Regions from separate parts of the Homo sapiens genome. Here all the other regions are linked to region 1. Evidence: promoter capture Hi-C in human tissues and cell types (Jung and others, 2019). All regions are on one chromosome and are shown on one strand. The core of a region is centred on a gene start or on the middle of the fragment in contact, and the rest is flanking DNA. Distances in the headings are between cores, read along the strand shown.

What was found. The method cuts DNA at HindIII sites, captures the fragments that hold promoters and counts their contacts. A contact is called where the count stands out against the background at its distance.
Region 2: the fragment with the promoter of ECI1 here is called in contact with the fragment with the promoter of SRRM2 in region 1 in 1 of the 25 tissues and cell types used here (lymphoblastoid cells).
Region 3: the fragment with the promoter of RNPS1 here is called in contact with the fragment with the promoter of SRRM2 in region 1 in 1 of the 25 tissues and cell types used here (mesenchymal stem cells).
Region 4: a fragment that was not itself captured here is called in contact with the fragment with the promoter of SRRM2 in region 1 in 1 of the 25 tissues and cell types used here (spleen).
Region 5: a fragment that was not itself captured here is called in contact with the fragment with the promoter of SRRM2 in region 1 in 2 of the 25 tissues and cell types used here (lymphoblastoid cells and thymus).
Region 6: a contact is called between the fragment with the promoter of CCNF here and the fragment with the promoter of SRRM2 in region 1, in 6 of the 25 tissues and cell types used here (hippocampus, liver, lymphoblastoid cells and 3 more).

The regions. Positions count from the first base shown.
Region 1 is chr16:2,751,023-2,754,819 of GRCh38, reverse strand. It overlaps SRRM2 (serine/arginine repetitive matrix 2), which reads right to left and starts at 2,182. Exons shown (of 15, transcript NM_016333.4): 1 at 1,974-2,182. SRRM2-AS1 (SRRM2 antisense RNA 1) reads left to right here and starts at 2,220. Exons shown (of 6, transcript NR_027275.1): 1 at 2,220-2,378. RefSeq lists enhancers at 774-1,616, 1,617-2,459, 2,341-2,630, 2,691-2,860, 2,460-3,302 and silencers at 1,771-1,830, 1,851-2,160. The HindIII fragment of the contact is 13,386 bases long and covers 1-3,797 here.
Region 2 is chr16:2,249,050-2,252,846 of GRCh38, reverse strand. ECI1 (enoyl-CoA delta isomerase 1) reads left to right here and starts at 1,260. Exons shown (of 7, transcript NM_001919.4): 1 at 1,260-1,332; 2 at 1,418-1,531. The coding sequence starts at 1,281. It overlaps LOC107984839 (a long non-coding RNA gene), which reads right to left and starts at 1,177. Exons shown (of 2, transcript XR_001752052.2): 1 at 854-1,177. RefSeq lists enhancers at 809-868, 1,799-1,928 and a silencer at 1,119-1,588. The HindIII fragment of the contact is 14,026 bases long and covers 1-2,551 here.
Region 3 is chr16:2,266,140-2,269,936 of GRCh38, reverse strand. It overlaps RNPS1 (RNA binding protein with serine rich domain 1), which reads left to right and starts at 1,811. Exons shown (of 8, transcript NM_080594.4): 1 at 1,811-1,882. MIR3677HG (MIR3677 and MIR940 host gene) reads right to left here and starts at 1,274. Exons shown (of 3, transcript NR_132988.1): 1 at 1,094-1,274. RefSeq lists a silencer at 1,164-1,613 and an enhancer at 1,744-2,003. The HindIII fragment of the contact is 10,724 bases long and covers 1-3,797 here.
Region 4 is chr16:2,288,575-2,292,371 of GRCh38, reverse strand. It overlaps ABCA3 (ATP binding cassette subfamily A member 3), which reads left to right. Exons shown (of 33, transcript NM_001089.3): 19 at 134-232; 20 at 2,752-2,938. Among named protein-coding and RNA genes, the nearest start is that of MIR4717, 16 kb to the right of the region's middle. The HindIII fragment of the contact is 8,847 bases long and covers 1-3,797 here.
Region 5 is chr16:2,367,885-2,371,681 of GRCh38, reverse strand. It overlaps the pseudogene ABCA17P. Among named protein-coding and RNA genes, the nearest start is that of ABCA3, 29 kb to the right of the region's middle. The HindIII fragment of the contact is 6,058 bases long and covers 1-3,797 here.
Region 6 is chr16:2,427,305-2,431,101 of GRCh38, reverse strand. CCNF (cyclin F) reads right to left here and starts at 1,655. Exons shown (of 17, transcript NM_001761.3): 1 at 1,605-1,655. The coding sequence starts at 1,620. RefSeq lists silencers at 1,280-1,329, 1,340-2,189 and enhancers at 2,400-2,579, 2,015-2,594. The HindIII fragment of the contact is 14,340 bases long and covers 1-3,797 here.

The DNA of each region.
Region 1 (3,797 bases), core at 933-3,432:
GCTCAAAAAATCAATTTCTCTACACCCCAATCCTCATTTTCATCTTCTAGTACCAATCCTCCTCACGGTTTAAAACTAGGTCCTTCTTCGCCTCTCCCCTACCCCACTTAATTTCTGCTTCCCCTGCAGCATGTTTTTGACCTGCACTTAATTCTTCAGCTTAACCATTCACCCACACTTCCATACCACCTCACACAAAAATCCCCCCACTCCTTAAGAAAGGAAAACCAGGCCGGGTACGGTGGCTCACGCCTGTAACACCTGCACTTTGGGAGGCCGAGGTGGGCGGATCACCAGATCAGGAGATTGACACCAGCCTGGCCAACACGGTGAAACTCCATCTCTACCAAAAATACAAAAATTAGCTGGGCGGCGGCGATTGCCTGTAATCTCAGCAACTCCAGAGGCTGAAGCAGGAGAATCGCTTGAACCCGGGAGGCGGAAGGTTGCAGTGAGCCGAGATCGCGCCACTGCACTCCGGCCTGCCAACAGAGCTAGACTCCGTCTCGGAAAAAAAAAAAAAAGAAAAACCAGTAGGTGCTAAGCAAAGGATATTAGGTCACAATGTTTCGGAGAACTTTTAGGGAATGAGCCACCTAGTCCACCCCACAAAAAAAGACGACGACCCCACGGCATCTAAGGGGTGTGTTAAGACACAGAAAGTAGGAAGATCAACACCACACACAAATCACCAAACCAAACGATATTACAAAACTCTTAAAGTGGGGGCCATAGACAGTGGATATGCAAAAGTTACCCAAGTTAAAAGCAGAAAGTAAAAAGTACAAAGGAAGACAAAAACACCCTTTTCTGTTGGGAAATTATCCGAGTGGTAAGCTAACAATGAAGTAGAAAGATATATTTGAATTCAACAGTAAAATATGCAAAAAAGAAAACGGTACCAAAAGGGGAGAAAAAGGGGAGACAAGGGTTGTCGAAAAAAATGGACATCAGCAAGCACAGCCAGCTCAGCACCGGGGCGCTCCAGAGCGGCTGAGTGGACACAAAGAACCCAGAAAGCTAAAATAGTAGCTTTAGAAGAGCCCTAAGCCCACGCACTTAGGATGAAAGACAACACAACACTCTGAAATTCTGATCCAGATTCGTCCTAACTGAAGCCGAGTGGAAACCAAGCTTCAGAAGAGCTGTGTGCCAAAGAACGCCTGAAACCAACCAGAAAACTTATATATGAGTCTGGCGTTTTCTTCCCAACGAAGGTCTCCAAAAGCCTCCTTAGTTTGAACACGAATTCTCGGGAGACGTTGAAAAAGTGTAAAAAGGGAACGCACGGTCTACCTTACAAATGTAAACTGAACACGTTCACTTTCTTCACAGTTTTTAAGATTTGGGGTTTCTCCCCGCCACTAACAACTCAAAGGCTGATAGCCGGGAATCCTAAACCATTTAAATCCGGCCCACGAAGTTCAAGGCCCTCCCCGCAGCGCCGGGGGCCTATTTTCGGCCTTGCGGAATGGGGGAGGGGGCTGCGCGGCGTCCCGCAGTCTGGGAGGCCCCCGACACGGGCAGCCCAACGCCGAAGAGAAGCCCGAGGAAAGGAGATCTGGAACCGGGGGCAAGGGTCCAGGAGCAAGCCCCCCGCCGCCGCCCCTTCCCCGCCACTTAAGGGCCGAAAACGGCAGCTGCAGGAAGGCCACCTCGGCGGCACATGTTGGGGGGAGGAGTGAAGCCGAGGCGCGCGCCCTCCCCCCTCACCAAGGGCGCTCGCGAACCCGAGTACAGGCGGCTGCGAACGCCGTTGTCATGGGGGAGGGGCGGGGGGGGGTGAAGCCCGCGCGCGACAGGAACGGCGGGAAGGGGGAAGGGAGGCGAGGGCGTCCGCGCCAGCGAAGGGCGTCGAGCGCGCGTGCGCGCGGAGGAGCTCGGCGGCCTGGGCAGTTCTCCGCGCGCTTTGGCCTCGCGCCGGGGCCGCCGCCCCTCCCCCACCCGGCTCGCTGGCTCCCTCACCCTCTCACCCGCCGCCTCCGCCCGCCGCCTCCGAGGGGGAGAGGTCTTGCCGCCGCCGCTGCTCGAGCTCCCGAGTCCCTCGGGCCTGGGGCCGCCGCCTCGCCTCGCCGGTCCGCCCGCCTCAGCCGACGCCGACGCCTCCTCGCTTCCTCAGGGGCCGCAACGGGCTCCAACTGCGCCACTCGCACCCCGCCTGGGCCGCGCTGCACGTCAGCACGACTAACTGCGTGCGTCAGCACGCAAACGCGCGTCGCGGGGCCTGCCGGGAACTGGAGTGCGCCCCGCGGCCTTTTGCGCAGGCGCCGAAGCCACACCGCGAAGTACCGTTTTTTCAGGCACAAGGAAGGTTTCACCCCGTTGCCGAAAGACTAAGCGTCCCGTTGGCCAGTGCAACGAAGAACGGAGGAAGCGACGTAAGACACCGCGTATTCGTAGGCCTTCCGCTGCGGGGAGGAGCACAGGGCCTAGCGGCAGCAAAGCGACGCCCGAGCGCGTCTCGTCTCCCGCTGTCGATGCAGAGCATTCTGGGAGTTGTGGTTCGGGCGTGTCGCGGAGCCCGGATGTAATTTCGGCTCGGGGCGTGGCGGCCATTTTGTCTCCCCATGTTGGGAGACGATATCCCAGCCGCGGTGGTGCTGCCGCTTTCGTGTGACTTTGGGTTTCCCGAGCGAGCCCGCAGCTGCACAGCAGTCCGCCTTCCCGTACCCGAGAGAAGCCGCCTCAGACCCCAGCCAGCGGGCACCCCCGGAGGCCCCGAGCCTGGCTGCAGGCCCTAGACCTGCACCAGGGGCCCAACCAGTTACCCGTAGCATGGGCCACGTTCTCCCGCTGTAGACCGGGCTGAGGCCCGACGGCCACCCCTGGGGGAGGAGTTTTCTTAGCTTCCGGTAGGGCAGCCAGGCCGGGGTCCCACCAGACCCAGGACGTGATACCGGTGAAGCGGCACATACAGGAACAAGGCAGGAGGAAAATAATAAGCACCTTAAAGTTTCCACTTTTCGGTACCGTACTTCCTGTTAATGTTTCTAAGCCCGTGATTCTGGGCCTGATAATCAGCCAGCCGTCCTCACAGCAGAGTTGTAAGACGCTGGGCTGCTCAAGCACAAGTTCATATCTAGACCCACCGCTGGCGAGCAGCCCTGGACGTCCCGCTTAGCTGTCCTAACCAACTCAGGTGGCCTTGATCCGCAACAGGACGCGGTACCACGTAATGAACTGTCCATTTGAGTGCAAGGATTTATATTTGTTATTACGATTTGGGGGTGTTTTTAAGAGGCAGGGTTTTGCCCAGGCTGTTCTCGAATTTGGGGCTCAAGCGATCCTCCGACCTCAGCCTCCCAAGTAGCTGGGACTACCCGTGCATGACACCCTATCTGGCCCTTGTTTTTTGTTGTTGTTGTTGTTCTTTCTTTTTTCACGTGGTTTCGCACTTGTCACCCAGGCTGGAGTGCAATGGTGTGTTGTCGGCTCACTGCAACCTGTCTCTCAGGTTGAAGTGATTCTCGTGTCTCAGTCTTCCGAGTAGCTGGGATTACAGGCGTGTGCCACCACGCCTGGCTAATTTTTGTATTTTTAGTAAAGACGGGGCTTCACTATATTGGTCAGGCTGGTCTCGATTTCCTGACCTCAGGTGATCTGCCCACCTCAGCCTCCCAAAGTGCTGATATTACAGGCGTGAGCCACCACGCCCGGCCCGTATCCGGCTTTAAGATTTGTTTTTCACTTGCCCGTGGGAGGATGTACTTATCTCAGATGCTAGAGCCGGGAGACCCTCCCCCCCACCACCCCCATCTCCTGCAGGAGCTCTGATCGCAGATTGGAGTGTCTGAACT
Region 2 (3,797 bases), core at 11-2,510, 500 kb after region 1:
TCCTTCTTCAGTGTCCAGAGTAGCAGGGGCTAATTTTTTTTTAATTTTTTAATTTTTTTTTTGAGACAGTCTCTGTTGCCTGGGTTGGAGTGCAGTGGCGCAATATTGGCTCACTACAACCTCTGCCTCCTGGGTTCAAGTGATTTTCCTGCCTCAGCCTCCTGAGTAGCTGGAATTACAGGCACCTGCCACCATGCCCAGCTAATTTTTTGTATTTCTAGTAGAGACGGCGTTTCATCATATTGGCCCGGCTGGTCTCAAACTCCTGACCTCATGATTTGCCCACCTTGGCCCCCAAAGTGCTGGGATTACAGGCATGAGCCACCGCGCCCAGCAGCAGGAGCTAATTTTTAAGAATTTTTTGTAGCAACAAGTTGTTGCTATGTTACCCAGCTGGTCCTGAGTCACTGGGGTTACAGGTGTGTGTCACCATGCCAGGCTTGCTTCCTCCTCCGTTAAGTGGCCATTTTTCCACCTCAAAAATTGGTTTGGGACACAAGGAAGAATTGGAAATGCTTAAGATGAGAACAAAAGTTGAGACCACCCAACACAGCTGGGACCTTACTGCCCAGTGCTCCCAGTGGTCTGACCAAAACCCCACACCAGACAGTACAAAGGCCCACTCCCGAGCTGCCGCTTACGGCCCAGCGGGAACAGACTGTATTCTTATCTTTCGGCATTTCTCTGCAAATAAAAAGGTGCCACTGCGGTCCGGCCTTTGTGCACTTGCCCTTGTGCTGAGCAAGGCGGGTGGCCTGTTCTTACCGCTGGGTTCTGCTGCCCCCACCCCCATTTCGGTGACTAAACCTGCAGCTCTGATCCTGTTCCCAAAGGGGCAGGAGGCCGGGCTCACCCCAGGCAGCCCCTGGCCTCCCTGACGGCCCCCTCGGGAGGGGTTCCGTGCTTTGATCGCCTTTCCAGCGCCGATACTGCAGTAGCTGGGCCCGGCCGAGAGCTCGCGGTCACGAACACCGGCAGCCTCTTGCCTACAGTGTCCCGCGCTGTAGAAGAGCCTGCCCTGGCGCTGAGCTGGTCGTGGCTGCTTCAGCAGTGGGCCTGCGCCTCCTTGTAGGCCAGCCCTGGCCCAGATCCAGGTGCCTGCCCCGGAAGCGCGCGGCTGCCCGGGGTGAAGCCGGAGGGCGGCGAGCGGCTGTTTCGGCCGGTAGGTGGAGGCGTTGACCAGCCTCTGGGAACGGGGCGGGACCTAGTTGGGGGGGCTCCGCCCCCTCCCCAGGAGGCGAGCTCAGCCCGCGACCTTTATCCCGCGCGTTGCGGTCAAGATGGCGCTGGTGGCTTCTGTGCGAGTCCCGGCGCGCGTTCTGCTCCGCGCGGGTGCGAAACCCGGGGTGGGCAGGGATCGGGCCGGGGCCGGGGCCAGGACCGGGAACTAACGGGCTCCCCCACGCTGCCTTCGCAGGGGCCCGGCTCCCGGGCGCGGCCCTCGGGCGGACGGAGCGGGCGGCCGGCGGCGGAGACGGCGCGCGGCGCTTCGGGAGCCAGCGGGTGCTGGTGGAGCCGGACGCGGGCGCAGGTGAGCGGGCGGCGCCGAGGGAGGGCGGGCGTGGGGTCAGGACCCGCGGGGGTCCGCGCTCGCGGGGTGCTGTCGGAGAACCACGTCTGTCGACGCTCGGTTTGTGTTTAGAACCCAAGTTTCGAAACAGAACCTTGCCGCTCTACCTGGGTTCGTTCGTCATGAGATAAAAGTTTCTGTTTTTAAAGTTGGCGGAGGCCGGGCGCGGTGGCTCACGCCTGTAATCCTAGCACTTTAAGAGGCAGAGGCGGGCGGATCACCTGAGGTCAGGAGTTCGAGATCAGCCTGGCCAACATGATGAAACCCTATCTGTACTGAAAAATACAAAAGAAAAAAATTAGCTGGGCGTGGTGGTGCGTGCCTATGCCTGGGAGGCTGAGGCAGAAGAATCGCTGGAATCTGGGAGGTGGAGGCTGCAGTGAGCCGAGATTGTGCCACTGCACTCCAGCTTGGGCCACAGAGCAAGATTCCGTCTCAAAATAAATAAATAAATAAAAATAAAGTTGGCGGGGATATGAGCTGTTATCTAAGTTATTCAATTGGAAGTGGAAAAGAATTGGAATCTTTTGGAATAAAATTACGTTTGTTAACACTCCCATGTGGCACAGAACCTCGTACCTACCCGCCCGTCAGAACCCTTGGTAAAACCCACTGGAAAGGATAGAAAAAGTACTTTTGGAAGAGAAGCCTGTGCGCTCCCTCCAGACAGGAGGCCGAGCTGAGGGCACCGAGAGGGCACGCCTAGGCGCCAGCAGTTCTGCTTCCAGGACATGCTGACCTGGACCTCCCGGTGCAGCAGTCCCTGCTGTGGCTCCTGAGAGGAGGCCCTCCCCCTCCGCAAGTAAGTCACAGCCCCTGCCCTCCCCAACCCCCCAGACTCAGGGCTGTGCCCAACTTTGCACAGCTTCAGGACTCCAGGCTCCTGGTGCCTCTGAACTTGGTTCCGTCCTCTCTGTCTGGGCTGAGGGAGCTGCCTGGGCTCTCTCTACAAACTTGAGAGGGACAAACTAAGACCAACTTCAAACTGACTTTTTTTTTTTTTTTTTTTTTTTTTGGAGATGTAGTCTTGCTCTCCAGTCGCCAGACTGGAGTGCAGTGGCGCAATCTCCGATCACTGCAACCTGTGCCTCCTGGGTTCAAGCGATTCTCCCTCCTCAGCCTCCCAAATAGCTGGGATTACAGGGACCCACCACTATGCCCACTAATTTTTGTAAAAACTGAGTTTCTGAAGGGATCATTTCTGTAGCATATTTGAATATATCTCAACAAAATGCAAAAAAAAAAATTATTATTTTTTTTTTTTTGAGACAGAGGCTCCCTCTGTCACCCAGGCTGGCGTGCAATGGCGCGGTTCCGGCTCACTGCAATCTCAGTCAGGCCTGACTTTCTGACTCCAAACTCTACTTTGTCTTTTTTTTTTTTTTTTTTTTTTTTTTTTTGAGACGGAGTCTTGCTCTGTCGCCAGGCTGGAGTGCAGTGGCACGATCTCCGCTCACTGCAAGCTCCGCCTCCCGGGTTCACACCATTCTTCTACCTCAGCCGCCCAAGTAGCTGGGACTACAGGCGCCCGCCACCACGCCCGGCTAATTTTTTTTTTTTGGTATTTTTAGTGGAGACGGGGTTTCACCATGTTAGCCAGGATGGTCTTGATCTCCTGACCTCGTGATCCACCCGCCTCGGCCTCCCAAAGTGCTGGGATTACAGGCGTGAGCCACCGCGCCCGGCTTACGTTGTCTTTTTATATGGTAAAGTGGGGAGGCACTCGAGTAAAAAAATTGTCATTGTACGAACACTTTTCCTTTTTTACCGGAGGTAATGTGTGTGTGTGTGTACATAAAAATCTTTAAAATATGCCTCACATTTACCATTCTAGCCATTTTGCAATGTACAACCCCGTGGCCGTAAGTATATTCACAATGTGTAGTCCACACTACCCATTCCAATACCTTAAGATAACATGTTTTTGAGTCCGGGCCCGGTGGCTCCCACCTGTAATCCCAGCACTTTGGGAGGCCAGGGTGCGCGGATCACGAGGTCAGGAGATTGAGACCATTCTGGCTAACACGGTGAAACCCCATCTCTACTAAAAAATACAAAAAAAAATTAGCCGGGCGTGGTGGCGGGCACCTGTAGTCCCAGCTACTTGGGAGGCTGAGGCAGGAGAATGGTGTGAACCCCGGAGGTGGAGCTTGCAGTAAGCCGAGATCGCGCCACTGCACTCCAGCCTGGGCAACAGAGCAAGAATCTGTCTCAAAAATAAATTAAT
Region 3 (3,797 bases), core at 562-3,061, 480 kb after region 1:
GCCAGCCTCCACCCACAGGAACACACTGGTGACTTACTGCAGCAGACTCGGGAGGTAGCTCCTCCTCCTAGCTGCCTTTGTCCCCAACTCCTTGGACATCCCTTAGCCCAGGGTGAAGGGTCAAGGGCACACTTGACACCCTCGGACAGGGCCAGAGGGAGTGGGTCTCGGCAGGAAGTCACCAAGAGCTGGCTTCCCACACAGGGAAGAGGGCAGTGATGGCAGACCACATCCCCACTATCTATCCATCCATTCACCCACCCACCCACTCCGGGTCACCAAGCTGCACCCTGTCCTTTGCTCTGACATCTAAAGTCTCCAAGTCATGCTGGTTCTCTCCTCCCAAAGATCGGCTTGGATCTGTTCCCTTCTCCCTTCCTTGCTGCCACGAAGCTGTTCAGACAAAGTCTGAAGCTCAGCGCACCGTCAATCCCTCCACAAATAACCACAGGGCAACGACTGCCTGACAGGCACAGCAGAGAACAAAACCCGCCCTCGGCCGGGGGCGGTGGCTCACGCCTGTAATCCCAGCACTTTGGGACGCCCAGGAGCGAGCACTTTGGGAGGCCAAGGCGAACCTAGGAGCGGATCACGAGGTCAGGAGTTCTCGACCAGTCTGGCCAACATAGTGAAACCCTGTCTCTACCAGAAAAATACAAAAAAAATTAGCCGGGTGTGGTAGTGTGCGCCTGTAATCCCAGCTACTCGGGAGGCTGAGGCAGGAGAATCGCTTGAACCCGGGAGGCGGAGGTTGCAGTGAGCCGAGATCGCGCCGCTGCACTCCAGCCTGGGCAACAGTGCGAGACTCTGTCAAAAAAAAAAAAAAATCCGCCCCGTCAGTGTGGGGAGTTGACGCGGAGCCTCCTGCCTGCACCCCTACAGCGTCACCCCCTCCTCTGTCCCTGCCAGAGGCGCCACCTCTGGACTCTCCCAGGGTCGGACCCTGGTCGACAGTGCTCCCTGCCCGGACCCTGCACCGGCCGATGGATGAAGCCTCGGCGCTGCGCCGTTCACACGCTCCGTGCCGCTGCCGCGAAGCTCGCGCGGGCCTGCGAGCCGGTACCCGGGCCTCCCTTCCCTGCTTCCAGCGAACCTCGGCGCCTGCTGTTCCCCCGCCGGGCGCGCCCTTCCATTCGGGTCTCAGCGGCAGTGTCACCTCCCCGGAGAGGCCCGCCGTTGCACCCCATCTCCCACTCTCAAGCTCGTCGCTCTTCCTGCCCGCACAGCCCGCCTGCCGCGCCCACCCGGTGGAGGTCCGCCTGCCGGGAGGCCGCGTCCACGGGAACACCCCAAACGCCACCAGTGGATTTTGACCGCACGAACGCACGCCCTGCCCCAGCCCGTCTCTCCGAGCTACTTCCGCCCTGCGGGCCCCCACGCCCCGCCACGCACGGCCGCAGAGCCTGCGAACCCCTCCTGTGCTACCACCCCGCCGGCCTCAGCACAGCCCGGCCCGGAGCCCCGCCTCCACCGCCGGCGACAGGGGCCGGAGTCTGCCCGGGCGGGCCCAGTGCGCCCGCGCAAGGAAAGGGGCGGGGCACGGGCGCGTTAACACCCTCCGCGCCGGAGGACGAGCCTCGGTCATCGCGCTGCCCTCCCAGGTTCAACAGGCTACCCATGTGCCCGCTCCAGTAAGCGTGCAACCAGCCCGGTCAGTCCCAGGGACTTTACCGGCTAGGAGACACCTTGAACGTCCCCAGCGCGACTCCCACAAACTGCCTTGACTCTTTAACGCTTCCTCGCTGGCGCCCATTGGGCCAGGCGTTTACGTCATCGCTGCGCGCCGGGCGGCGGCGACTTCCCGCTCCTTGACTCTGACGTCAGAGCGGCGCCGGCCTCGGCGGCTGAGGAAAGCAGGAGGAGGTGGCGGCGGCGGGAAGATGTAAGTTGGGGCGGAATCCGACTGCATCCGTGTTTCGGGGGCTGCCCGGCAGGCCCGGCAGGACGCCTCGTGAAGCCGGTCCACTCCTCAGCCCCGCAGTGCGGCGGTGGCCTGGCAGCGCGGTGCGGGCTCCGAGAAGAAAGAGTGTGGCCCGGGGCGGGCGGAGTGGGAGGTGTCGAGGCCGTGGCCCGGAAGTGGTCGGGGCCGCTGCGGACGGAAGGGCGCCTGTGCTTCGTCCGCTCGGCGGTGGCCCAGCCAGGCCCGCGGGACTCAGACCAGCGGGGAGCGCGGCCTCCGCCCTTGGGGCCCTCCCGCCGGGCCGGAGACCCAAGCCCCCAACGCCAGGCCCTGCCCTGGAAGCGCTCGCGGCCCGGCGCCTGGACGGGGGAGTTGTGAGTGAACGCGGACGGGTAGCGGCGAGGTCGGCGTGTCGGGCCGGTGTCGGCGGGCGCGGAGTTTCTTTGTGGGATGCGGTGGAAGGTCGGCCGATCCCCCCTTCGGAGTCATTAATTCAAACGTGTACTCCGCGAACGTTTCCCGGACTCCCGTGTGCAATTATCGGCGCTAGGCCGTGGGGATACGGCCCACTATGGACCGAGCACGGTGGCCGAGCTCAGTTTGATGGGTTACCCCAGAGGGGCGGATACGGGAAGGTTAAGTTTGTTGGAGGAGAAACGTGGAGTAGGCTTTTTGTCTTGATTCCGCATGAACTGTGCCTGAAATGTACTTTTAAATGGGGAAGGTGCTCTGAAGATTTGTGCCGAAACGCCCTCTCCTCGAGATTTAACTAATTGTTCTCTCCTCTCTCTGGCTGTTGGACGCGCACCTTTCCGGAGGATGGGGGAGGTAACCGAGGTCCTGAGCCGGTACCTGAACTTGGGTGAACAGAGAACCTCAACTTTTGCTTTCTAGCACTCGACCGCACCCAGCAAGGCGTCCGCTTACTCAGTGGTTCTTAGTGTTTGGAGTGCTTAAGAATAACTGGTGGTGTTTGATTTCACCAAGTACATTCGGGCAGATCTTAGTTCTTGGGGGGGTGGGGCTGGAATCTGCGGGTGTGACCTCCACTCTAGGTCTGTGCTGTCCAGCCAAGTAGCCATTGGCCACATGTGGCTGCTAAGCATGTGAAATACAGCTAATCAAGACTGAAATATTAAAACACACACCAGTTTTAGAAGACTAGGAAAAAAGCAAACTTTTATTAGATGTTTATGTTGATTATATGTTGGAAAGATAATATTTTGGATGTGTCAAACGTTAAAAATTAATTTCACCCATTTTTGTGACGTGGCTACTAAGGAATTTCAGGTGATGCTTGTGGCTCCTCACACGGTTTCTATTGGACAGTGCTGCTGCAGGTGATTCGAAGGCGGGTGGGTGCAGGAACCCAGCTGAGAGTTCAGAAATTAGTGTAACTTTGGAGACAAGTGTCTGTGGGGGAAGGAGCCTCCGGACGTGGAGATACAACTCTTGCTCCTAACATTTATCGAGTCTTTAATTAATGCCCTGGGTAACTATAAGGTTGGAACTGTAATTGTCACCATATTGATGATGAGAAACTTGAGAAAGGATAAGTGACTTGTCTAAAATCACACAGTAAAACCTCAAATCAAACCCAGGCCCTCTGGCTCCAGACTCTAAATTATACTCTGAATGATACTCACTGATTGTCCGAGGACACAAAGAGTGTCGAGGCACTATCTGCTGGGTGTCTGCAGAACCTTACTGTTCTAAAGCAAAACATTTTACCCCTGGACAAGAGCAGCAAAGGTGGCGTTCGGCCCTCCTTGGCTCTCATTTGACTGTTCAAAGCCAGGTGCTTTTCTTTCTTGGGTCAGAACGTATTTTCAGCAGCATTTTGAAGCACCCCTGGCGTGCACTGCACAGGGAAACCAGGACCACATTGGTGTGCTGT
Region 4 (3,797 bases), core at 862-3,361, 460 kb after region 1:
CGCCTTGGCGTCCCAAAGTGCTGGGGTTACAGGTGTGAGGCACTGTGCCTGGCCGAGGGGGGGTGATGCTTTAGGAACAAATTATCTAGAAAGTCACTGAGAAGTGACTCATAATGCTGGGTCTGTTTTTCAGGTTTGAAGGTCTCTTTGCTAAACTGGAGAAGAAGCAGAAAGAGCTGGGCATTGCCAGCTTTGGGGCATCCATCACCACCATGGAGGAAGTCTTCCTTCGGTCAGTAAATGCGCATTTCCGTCCACCTAGGACTGGGCTCCGTGCTGCAGAGGACTTTTTTTTTTTGAGATGGAGTTTCACTCTAGTTGCCCAGGCTGGAGTGCAGTGGTGCGATCTCGGCTCACCGCAACCTCCGCCTCCTGGGTTCAAGAGATTCTCCTGCCTCAGCCTCCCGAGTAGCTGGGATTACAGGCATGTGCCACCACACCCAGCTAATTTTGTATTTTTAGTAGAGATGGGTTTTCTCCATGTTGGTCAGGCTGGTCTCAAACTCCTGACCTCAGGTGATCCGCCCACCTTGGCCTCCCAAAGTGCTGGTATTACAGGCGTGAGGCACCGTGCTCAGCCGAGGACTTCTAAAAAGTGCAGTGATAAACAGTCACCTCGGTTATGATCTCAAATGCCCACGTGAGGCTGGAGGAACAGCCTGGGGTGGGGCGGGCAGTGGCCGCCGTCAGAGCCCCAAGTGCAGATTGTGACTGTCAGCAACATTGGTGTGCGTGGGAAACGGCGGCACACGTGAGGGGCCTGCACTGCCTTGGGGTCCCTCCTAGACCCGCCACGGGTCTAGCTGGCACACGGCGTCAGAGGCGTGCCCAGCTCTTCTTGGGCTTAGATCGTCCTTGGGAGATACCTGTGTCGTTAATGAAGATGGGAACTATCTCATCCAGACCCTCAGAACTGCATGGGGGCTGGGCGTGGTGGCTCACGCCTGTCATCCCAGCACTTTGGGAGGCCGAGGCAGGCGATCACTTGAGCCAAGGAGTTTGAGACTAGCCTGGTCAACATGGTGAAATCCCATCTCTTTTTTTTTGAGACAGAGTCTCACTCTGTCTCCCAGGCTGGAGTGCAGTGGTGCAATCTCAGCTCACTGCAACCTCTGCCTCCCAGATTCAAGCGATTCTCCTGCCTCAGCCTCAGTAGCTGGGACTGCAGGCGCACGTCATTACGCCCAGCTAGTTTTTTTGTATTTTTAACAGAGATGGGGTTTTGCCATGCTGGTCTGGAACTCCTGACCTCAGGTGACCCACCTGAAGATCTGTGCTGGGATTACAGGCGTGAGCCACCACCCCCAGCCACCATCTCTACTAAAACTACAAAAATTAGCCGGGCATGGTGGCACACACCTGTAATCTCAGCTACTTGGGAGGCTGAGGCAGGAGAATCAATTGAACCTGGGAAGTGGAGGTTGCAGTGAGCTGAGATTGTGCCACTGCACTCCACCCTGGGGGACAGAGCAAAACCCTGTGTCAAAAGAAAAAGAAAAAAACGTGAGATAGGTTTTCCTCCTTAGGGAGCCCACAGCCTAGAGGAGGCGACAGAATAGGTGATCATACATGCAGGACATGGTGGTGCATGCTCTGGGGACACCTGTGCAGGGGACCATGTGTCCAGGAACAGACCCAGGGAAAAAGGCCAGGCAAGGCGGCGGAGGGAGGGAGGGACTGCCCGCTGACCTGTGTCCCACACAGGACCGAGCACTGACTGACTGATTCTGTGAATCCTGGTTGAAGGAAGGAAGGAAGCATGAACATAACAGAAAGAAACCACGGGCTGGCCTGGAGTCAGCCGGCTCTGAGGGTAGAACCCGGGTTGATCCTGCTGCGTCTCAGCAGCCACAGGGCCTCTTGTCTCTCAAGGTCTCAGGCCTCTCTGGCCCCATCTCATACTCACCACACGGCCCACCTGTGACTCAGCTCCAGGCCCCACACCTGACCCTGGCCTCTCTGAGCTCCTGGTCTCAAGAGAAAAATAATCAGAAGCTTTTCCTGGTTTGTCTAGGACCTGGGGAGAGCTAGCCAGGCTGGTAAGCGCCCACCGGAGCTCAGACCATGGGCAGGAAGGCTTTTAATCAGAGGGAATACTGACGAGATGGCAACACTTGGTGTCTCTGAGCAGATCATGAAAGATGAGTGGGACTGGGAGAATCCAGTGAGGGAGAAGGGCTCTGCCAAGGGCCAGAGGAGCAGGTACTTAGGCCTCACGGCAGCCTGCACACAGGAGCAAGAAGCAGGCAGACAGGGCTCACACGGGCTCCAAGTGTGGCCTGACAATGTTGCTAAGCCAGCCGGGGGGTGCCTCCTGCCTGCTGCAGCCTCAGTTGTGTTTCCTAATCGGCGGGGAGCTCTAGGAAGGGGTGTGTGTGTGTGTGTGTGTGTGTGTGTGTGTGTGTGTGTGATGTAATTCACATAATATTAAAAAATCACCTCCTCTGCCAGCCTTGGTGGTTCATGCCTGTAATCCCAGCACTTTGAGAGGCCAAGGTGGGTGGATCACTTGAGGTCAGGAGTTCCAGATCAGCCTGGCCAACATGGTGAAACCCTATGTCTACTAAAAATACAAAAATTAGCTGTGCATGGTGGCCGGAGACACTGATGAGTGAGGAAACACATAAGCAGATGCATGAGCAAGCCAAGGACTGCGGCAACACTGCTCCCCTCAGTGCCTCTAACCATAGTCCCTCCCTCCACCCACCCGGGGAGCTGGGTCCTGACCGGTCCCTGTGTGTATCGGCACAGGGTCGGGAAGCTGGTGGACAGCAGTATGGACATCCAGGCCATCCAGCTCCCTGCCCTGCAGTACCAGCACGAGAGGCGCGCCAGCGACTGGGCTGTGGACAGCAACCTCTGTGGGGCCATGGACCCCTCCGACGGCATTGGAGCCCTCATCGAGGAGGAGCGCACCGCTGTCAAGCTCAACACTGGGGTGAGTGCCCAGGTGGGTGGGCGGGTGGCGGGGGAAGGGCGAGCAGCCCCCAAACGCCTCATGTAAGCCCATGCAGAGGAGAGTCTGCGAGGGCGCAAACAGGGTCCGGGAGAGTCAGCACACCGGGCAGAGGGCGGGCAGCGGCTCACACCGCATGGGTCGGCAGGGAGAAGCGTTTGAATGGAGCAACTGGAATTTCTCATGCTCTACCTCAGGCACAGCACCCTGCTCAACAGGAGCTTGTCGGGTGCCCAGCTCTGTGTTGATGAGGCTCTCTAGCAGCCAACGACACGGAGGTTGGTTGATGCACTCGGTTCACAGATGGGAAACCGAGGCCTGGGCCAAAGTCAGATGTGACAGAGTCACAGAGCTCATTCTGATCCCTGGTCAGCCTGATCTCAAAGCCCTGACGCTCTCTGTCTCGGAGGACCAGGAAGGAAAGAAGCTGGAGAACGAGGCAGTCAGGCTGGTTGGGAGGCTCGGCCATCTGTTTCCTGTGACCTGTGTGGTGGTGTCTCCTTGTGGCAGGGGGAGGGCAGGGGATGGCAGCTGGTCCTCTACTGTCCTGAGACAATGAAACAGTGTCTGGGCCGGGTGTGGTGGCTCATGCCTGTAATCCCAGTACATTGGGAGGCCAAGGCGGGCAGATCACTTGAGGTCAGGAGTTCAAGACCAGCCTAGGCCAACATGACAAAACCCTATCTCTACTAAAAATACAAAAATTAGTTGGGTGTGGTGGTGTGCGCCTGTAATCCCAGCTACTTGGGAGGCTGAGGTAGGAACCCAGGAGGTGGAGGTTGCAGTGAGCTGAGATCACACCACTGCACTCCACCCCCAGTGACAGAGTGACCCTGTCTCA
Region 5 (3,797 bases), core at 964-3,463, 380 kb after region 1:
CAACATTGATCCTATCAGCGTCCAGGGCTAAATGCTATTCTAGAACTCCCCAAGAGACTATCTTTTCCTGACTCTGCACCAAGCGGAAATGGAACACATTCCTCTCTGGCATATTTCATCTAAGATTCCACTCAGAGAAGCTAAAGCTTAATTACTGGAAAACTGTTTTACTTTTACTCTTTATCTGGGAATGAAAACTGTATTTATGGCTAGGTTGTACTGTTCCATATAAAATTATCTGGAAATTTTTAACCTCTCTATGTCTCAAGTTACTTCCTCTACTAAATAAGAATAATAGCAGTAGTTCTCTCATATAATTGTGTATCATTCAGGATCCCTAAAGGAAACAACTGTTATATTCAAATTACAGTAATTCAAAGAGGGTTTGTTTATAACAGGCACATGTGTGCACAGAGACAGAAAACCCTACAGGATAGTGCAGAAACCTAGGGCTAGCAGCAAAAGCATGAATACCTTCCTTGGATCCAAATGGATGAGAAGAAAGAGAGGCTACCAGAATCCAGAATGGGAGAGTCTTGTAGGGCAAGACATCTTGCGAGAACAGTGACCTTCAGTTAAGGAACAAGCTGAGCCCAAAATGACCTGTAGGGATCTCTCCCTGCTGGCCTGAGGTCAACACAGGGACCTCATCCTCCTACTTCTTCCCTCTGAGGTCCTGCCAGATTCCTTGTGGGAGCATGTGCTGGGATCCCTACAGGTCAGCCTTCAGGGCATCAAGCAAGGTGGTGAATAGTGAAGGGTAGATCTCTTATCATGAGTCATTCCACAAGCATTTTTCAAACACCTACCTAGTGGGAGGCAGTGTGCTGACCAACCAGGAATGACCAGGCTGGACATTCTCAGACTAAAGGCAAGGATTCATGTAATAACAGAGGTGGGATCACCTAGATTGCAAGCAAGTTAAAATTGTGAACAACCTTCCAAGTTCCAACTCACCTTGGAAGTTGCTTGGACACCTAAGCAACCTCCTTTTGGCTTCATTCCTATTCTGGTCATTTTTCATTAGCAGCTTCCCCATACCCCTGTCCCAGGAGAGGCATACACTTGAAGTATCTGGGGTTACCTTCAGTCTTTTCTCTTTCTCCAGTACAATGGAACTGATGATGATGAGCTCAATGTACATGAAGCTGAGTATGAAGAACACAGAAAACTCATTCTGAAGGACTAGGAAGAACCTGTCCTCGATATAGGGTCCATATGGGAATCTCTTCACAAGTACATTGAGATTCTCAAACATGTTGGTCATTGCATTGTGAGCATGGTACCACATGATGGCTTTATCCACAGCATACTGTATGGCCAGGAAGCCTTCTTTGTTGTATCCTATGAGAAAATAGTGAATATCAAGAAATTAAGGTCAGGAGTTCGAGACCAGCCTGGCCAATATGGTGAAACCCCATCTCTACTAAGAATACAAAAATTAGCTGGGTGTGGTGGTGCATGCCTAAAGTCCCAGCTACTCGGGAGGCTGAGGCAGAATTGCTTGAACCTGGTGGGAGGCAGAGGTTGCAGTGAGCTGAGATTGCGCCACTGCATTCCAGCCTGGGCAACAGAGGGAGATTCCATCTCAAAAAAAAAAAAAAAAAAGAAAGAAAGAAAGAAAGAAAAAGAAAAAAGAAAGAAAGTATAAAGATACAACAACTGGTGTTTCAGACGGATCATGGCTAGGCATTCATAGAGACAGACAGCGGTAGGAAAGGCATCCCTAGAGTCCTCACTACAGTGTGGAAGAAAGAGAGGAAAGTCACAAGGGAGACCCCTGGAGCTGAGGGTAATGCATATATGATCCAAAAATGGGGTAAAGGAGCCTGGGCAGGCAAAATAAAAGATGTCCAATACAAGAATCTTTTGAGGTGGGACCACATCTCCTCCCCTTAGTATTCAGACTTCAGGGAAAGAGCACCTCTTCTGCAGTTTTGATCACACAGCACGTATGAGATGGTTAAACTCAAAGCACTCATATGAGATGGTTAAACTCAAAGCACTTGAAAGACACAGCCTCCCTAACCTGTTGTGACCTACTTCTGAATTGTTACCGCTGTTGGGTTTATGGTCAGTGAATTTTACTACTAAGTCTCAAAAACAGTCCTTATCACAAGCAACACTCATTTCAATACAGCATAGTTGGCATGATGGGGTCAGCTTTCAGGAAAAATAGGCTGAAAGGCAAAGATTCCTGGTTCTGGGGTCCTCTAAGAGATAACAGCCCCACCTCCAAGCAATGGTTACCAGGCTCCAACATGAGCAAAGCCAAGGTGGGGTACCTCAACCCCCTCCCAGGAGTAGAGGTGGCTATGGTCTTCAGATGGCCTAGACCTAGGCAGACTCTCAGATCTGTCCAGGAAAAAGAAGGAACAAATTGTTGGTAATAAATTCTCAGAATGGTTACATATTCTTGATTGTGTGTAGGAGTATTTTCACTGCAGAACTGCTGGATCTTTTCTAGAATTATGCAAAACTGTAAGTACTCGGACTTGGACTCTCACTTAGTGTGCACAAAGGCCTGAGGCTTCAAGCCAATATTTGAGCCATTCTACAACAGATGTAGATTACCAGCTTAATTTTCTAAGAAAAGTTAGTTGCCTAGAGGATGTTCACCCTAAACCCCTCACAAAAAGGAAGACCAAAAAATCTAAAGTGAATGGGAGAGCATGAGTCTTTCAAGAGCGGATTGGCCCATGGGCCTTCAGTCGGGAATGTGATGCTTATTGTGAAGGACAGAGGATGCACAGGTGTCAGTGTTGCCCCAGTACTTCTCTAGGAACCTGGGGTTGCCAGAAGCGAGAGTTGGGCAACGCAGGCAGATCCAGGGAGTACTGGGTGCCAAGTTTTAGGTGTTTGCTCTGTCAGGTGCAGTTAGACCCCTTTGCATGGGAGAGAGCAAGCAGATGCAAAGCAGCCACTCAGCAAGGCTCTCTCCTTCACCCTCAACAGAGGGTGACAGAGCAGAAAGTCAGCATGGCTCCCCAAGAAGAGAGGACTATGGCAGCCAGGAGTCAGGACCTGGCTTTGGGACCACATGCCAGCCCTTGGGACAAATAGGAACTCCTGGAAAAACTCCAACCTTCTGGCATTAATTTTCTGTCCTCTTATCCTGAATGACAGACAGGGAAAAGGAGATTTTCCCAGACTAGAAATGCAGATAGGGAGATTCATGAGAGGGAAAGGGAGAGGGCCAGCCAAGACCAAGAGGCCTGAAGAACAGGAACTGGGATTCTGCACCAGTGTTGCAGATGGGGCAGGGAGGATGGAATAAGAATCAAGGCAAGATCTAAAAGCATCAGTCAGAGTAAATAAAATCAAAGTGAAGCATCAGCCAATGAACAGGCCAGAAAGAGTTCAGGGATTCCCCCAAAGCAGGAACAGACTCTTTGGAGCTGCACAGACATGCAGAGAGTCCCAAGAGTGTGGATGATTATCTTCTGTTTCTTCTTCATTAAATTAAATGAGACGGATGAAATGCAAAGGATACAGTCAGTGGAGATTGTAATGGAGGCATGTTAGACATAGATCATACAATATGACATGCGTGTTGAACAGGACATGTGTTTAAAAAGATAGAATAGGGCCAAAAGTGGTGGCTCATGCCTGTAATCCCAGTAGTTTGGGAGGCCGAGGTGGGCGGATCACCTGAGGTCAGGAGTTCGAGATCAGCCTGGCCAACATGGTGAAACCCTATCTCTACTAAAAACACAAAAAATTAGCCAGGTGTGATGGTGGGCACTTGTAATCCCAGCTACTCAGGAGGCTGAGACAGGAGAATCGCTTGAACCTGG
Region 6 (3,797 bases), core at 406-2,905, 320 kb after region 1:
TAAGATGAAAAATTATTCTATATACACACCCTTGAAGGGAAAAAAAAAGGATAAAAGTTACATCTGAAGATGATCTAATGGTTACTATTCCCTGTGCCACAAAAGATGGAACTATGCTTCTTGTCCCAAACAAAGATTATGTAAAGGAGTGGCATTGCACAAATTACAGAAGAGATCATTCATTTTCAAATATTCAACAAATATTTATGGCAAATAGCGCATGTCATGTAACTTGGCTATTGGGAAACTTTCTGATCCAGAGCCCACATGACAGGCAGGAAGGGGAAAAAGCTGCCGAAGCTGAGGACGGTTTTCCTTCTATTTCACTCTCAGGAAAACTCCTGGGGCCTTTGCTGGATAGCTTTGCTTTTTGCACACGTGACCAAGGTGCATAATGTTCAATAAAGATCTGTGGGCTTGAAGAGTCTGGTTTTCAAGTCCAAATTAGAAGGGTCGGCCCTGGAGAGAAGCCACAGACTTGGAGGCCGGGGCAGTGTGCGTCCAAGTCTCAGCTCTGCAGAGTCTCAGTGTGCCCTCTATTGTAGAATGCGGAGTTGACAGCTACGCAGTAAGGTTGTTGCTCAGGTCCCAACACAAACCTAGACCTGTAGGTTTGTGTACAGATGCAATCATTAAAGGTGAGACGGGCATTCCACCCACCAGGCAGGCAGCCCGGACATGCTTCTCAGATGTGCTCTCTCCTCTTCCCACAGCCGGATTTTCCAACTCCTACTCCAGCAACCCCTTCCTCACTCTAAGCAGATGACCTTAGCCCTTATTTCACAGGGAAACAGAAGCCCTCAGACAGGAACCTCAGGATCCTGCCTCCCCATCTACAAATCTACCTTTCTATCCATCCTTCCTTCCAGTCCTGAAAGGAAGCGCCACTCCCCTCTGTGGGCCCAAATCCCTCCCCGCCTTGCTAGGACTTCCTAGCGATTGCTCCCGGCTCCCCTCTCTTGACCGGGGTCTTCCTGTTAGCAATTAAATCAGCTGCAAAAGCCAAACGTATTCCAGGGCGACGAATTCTCAAAGATTCTATAGACCTCTCCATAAAATATTCCTCATTCTCCGGCTCCAGGACAGATACTATGATAATAGCTGAAACCACAGTTCGTGTTTCCTGTGCCTCAACGCGCGCGGGGCCGAACGCTGCTTTCCACAGAGCTAGGTCCACGGCCCCGCTGGACTGAGGCTCGGTCAGGGCCCGGCCGGGCTGCGGGATCGCTTCGCCCCCACGCGCTCCGCAGCCCTTTCCCCGACCAGGAGGCGCTGGTGTTTGGCTCCCCGAGACCCGATCGCCGCCCCGGGACCCGATCGCCGGATCGCTGCCCCGGGACCCGATCGTTGCCCCAGGAAAGGGCCGGAAAACGTCGCCGCGGGGGAAGGCTCCGAGGGGCTCGGGCGCCCGCCGGGCATTTAAACCGCGCGCCCGGCCGCCGGGGCTCCCTGCGCGGGACGCGACATCCGCCCCGGGTTAAAGAGCTCGAGCCAGCCCTCTTCAGGCCGCCAGGGCCTCCCCTCCCGCGGGACCCACCGTCCGCCCCGCAGGGCAGGCAGAAGGGGTGTGGGGCAGAAACCAGCGGACATCGCCCCGCACTCACCGCCGCCGCTCCCCATCGCCGCGCTCGCGTCGCTGCCGCCGGAGCCCGCCTGAGAGCGCGCCCGCGCCCCGGCCGGAGCGCGCGTAGCCCTCGCGCAGGCGCAGACCCCGCCCCGCCGCCCACCCCAGTTTTCAAACGCACCCGGCCCTCCCATTGGCCTGCCCGGGGGGGCCGCCGCCGGCCCCGCCCATGTCCCGCCCTGTGCTCGCCTCATTTACCGCCCTCCACGCCCTCCCCGCCTGCTCCGGGACCCGCCATTGGCCGCGCCAGGACGCGAATTCGAACATTGGCCGCTGATTGGTGGAACCCGCGTGGCCGCCCCGCCTCCCCAACGGGGCTGGGGTCCCGTAGGAGCGCTTCCCGGCCGGCGGGCAGGGGTTTGTGGGCGTCCCCTCCCGGCCGCATGGGTTCGGGCTTCGCCGCTGACCCCGGCGACCGGCATCTGCGGTGCCAGATGGGCTGCGAAGGCGCACGCCTGCGGCCAGGGGAAAGAGGACTCCTTGGCGTCCCTCGCAGTCGCGGCCGTGATCCAGCCTGGGACAGCCTCGACGTGGCGCTTCTAAGACGAGGCCGTGCCCTGCCCGGGTCCCGGGGTCGCTCCTGGGCCCGCGACCCTCACCCCCAGCTTGCACGGCCTTCCCTTCCGCCGCCTGCTTCAGGTGGAGACCCTTGGGTTTGTGGCTGAGCCGCTGCTGGGCGGGGATGCTGGCCGGGATCGTGGTAGAGAAAGAGGAGGTCGGAGCTGACGCTGGGAAGTCTCCCCCGCGGAACGCTGACCCCTTCTTCCCGCGAAACGTGGCGCACCCTGGACGCCTCAGTGCTCCAGCCCCGGGGCAAGCCCTCCCCATCACTTTGGCCAGATGCTGCCCCCTGTCTGGCCTCCTCGGCTGCTACCTGGAGCTGCTCGCCGCGGGAAGTGTCGTATCTGCTCACTCTTGTCTTGGGCAGTGCCCATCTGAGCTGTCCTTCAGGAGTCAGCCACACCGCACCCCTTTTACGGCACAGGCTGTCAAGGGGAAGACTCGCAGCCTCCTGACTGTCTGGTGGAGGACAGAGGGGGCTTTTCCTGGGGAAGGCAGGGGCCTGGGCCAAGGCTGCCCACCCCTCCCTCACGCTTCCCTCAGTCTGCACCCTTCCATCCTTCCGGGTCCCCATAGAACTCCTTCAAGTACTGGGCCTGCCCTGGGCACACAGACAGGAGCCCTGGCGTGCAGGCTTCAGCCGGCCTGGGGCAAGAGACAGAGTAAACAGGTGATCACAGCACAGGGTACAGAAGAGTCCGTGGCCCCAGAGAGGGTCTGGAAGTTGGGAATATTCCCTGTCCCGGAATCAGGAAGCGGGTGAAGGAGGGTGAAGAGAGGACAGGCTGAGCGAGTTTGGGGCCTGCTCCCCAGATGTCCCATGTTCTCAGCCCCCAGATTTATTATCCCCTTATCTCACTTTTGTCCTCCTGGGTTACTGTTTCCTACTTTGTCACTGTTACCTGTCTCCCCCTAGGGCAGAGGTGCACTTTCAGGGTTAGCTTCCATAGCATCTTGAAGGGATTAATCAACTAGAGCCAGCCATGAGCACATTAGCCACACCAGCTGCCTCTAGAATCTAGAACAGCATCCTTGGTCCCTAGGTTGTTGTTTAGCTCTATCCTGTGCTTTGTGTCCTGATCACTCTCCTTTCAACATGGACAGGCAAATTTCTTTTTCAGGGAGCAGGAGTTGTCTTGACTGCAGCCATGCCTGCTCTCGCCCCACACCCTGCACTGGCAGTGGGAGCCTCCAGGGCTGCCCTGGGGTGATAAGTGGCTCCTCCAGGGTGTGGGCCCGTTTCCCACTGGGCTTCAGGAAGGTGAGACCTTGTTGGAAAAGTCTAAACTGTTAGGAGCTCAGGGAAATTCCTGGTGGAATGAGGTGTCGGTTGAAAACGTTATGGGTAGTGAGGGGCAGGGGAGAGAAGGGAAAGTGAAGTAGCTTGGGAGCCTGAGAAATCCCACATTCAGAGAAGAAGATGGGCCTTCAGTGGAGGCAGAGAGGGGCATGGGAGGAATGAGAGCTGGATATGGGAGCCCAGGGAGTGGCTTTCATCACAGGGAGCAGTCACCTGAAACGAGGACTGAGGAGGGTGGGTTGGCGACCATGGGTGTGCAACGCCGTTGTTCTGGGCAAGGGGTGCAGGAACCATAGGCAAGGCCTGTGCATG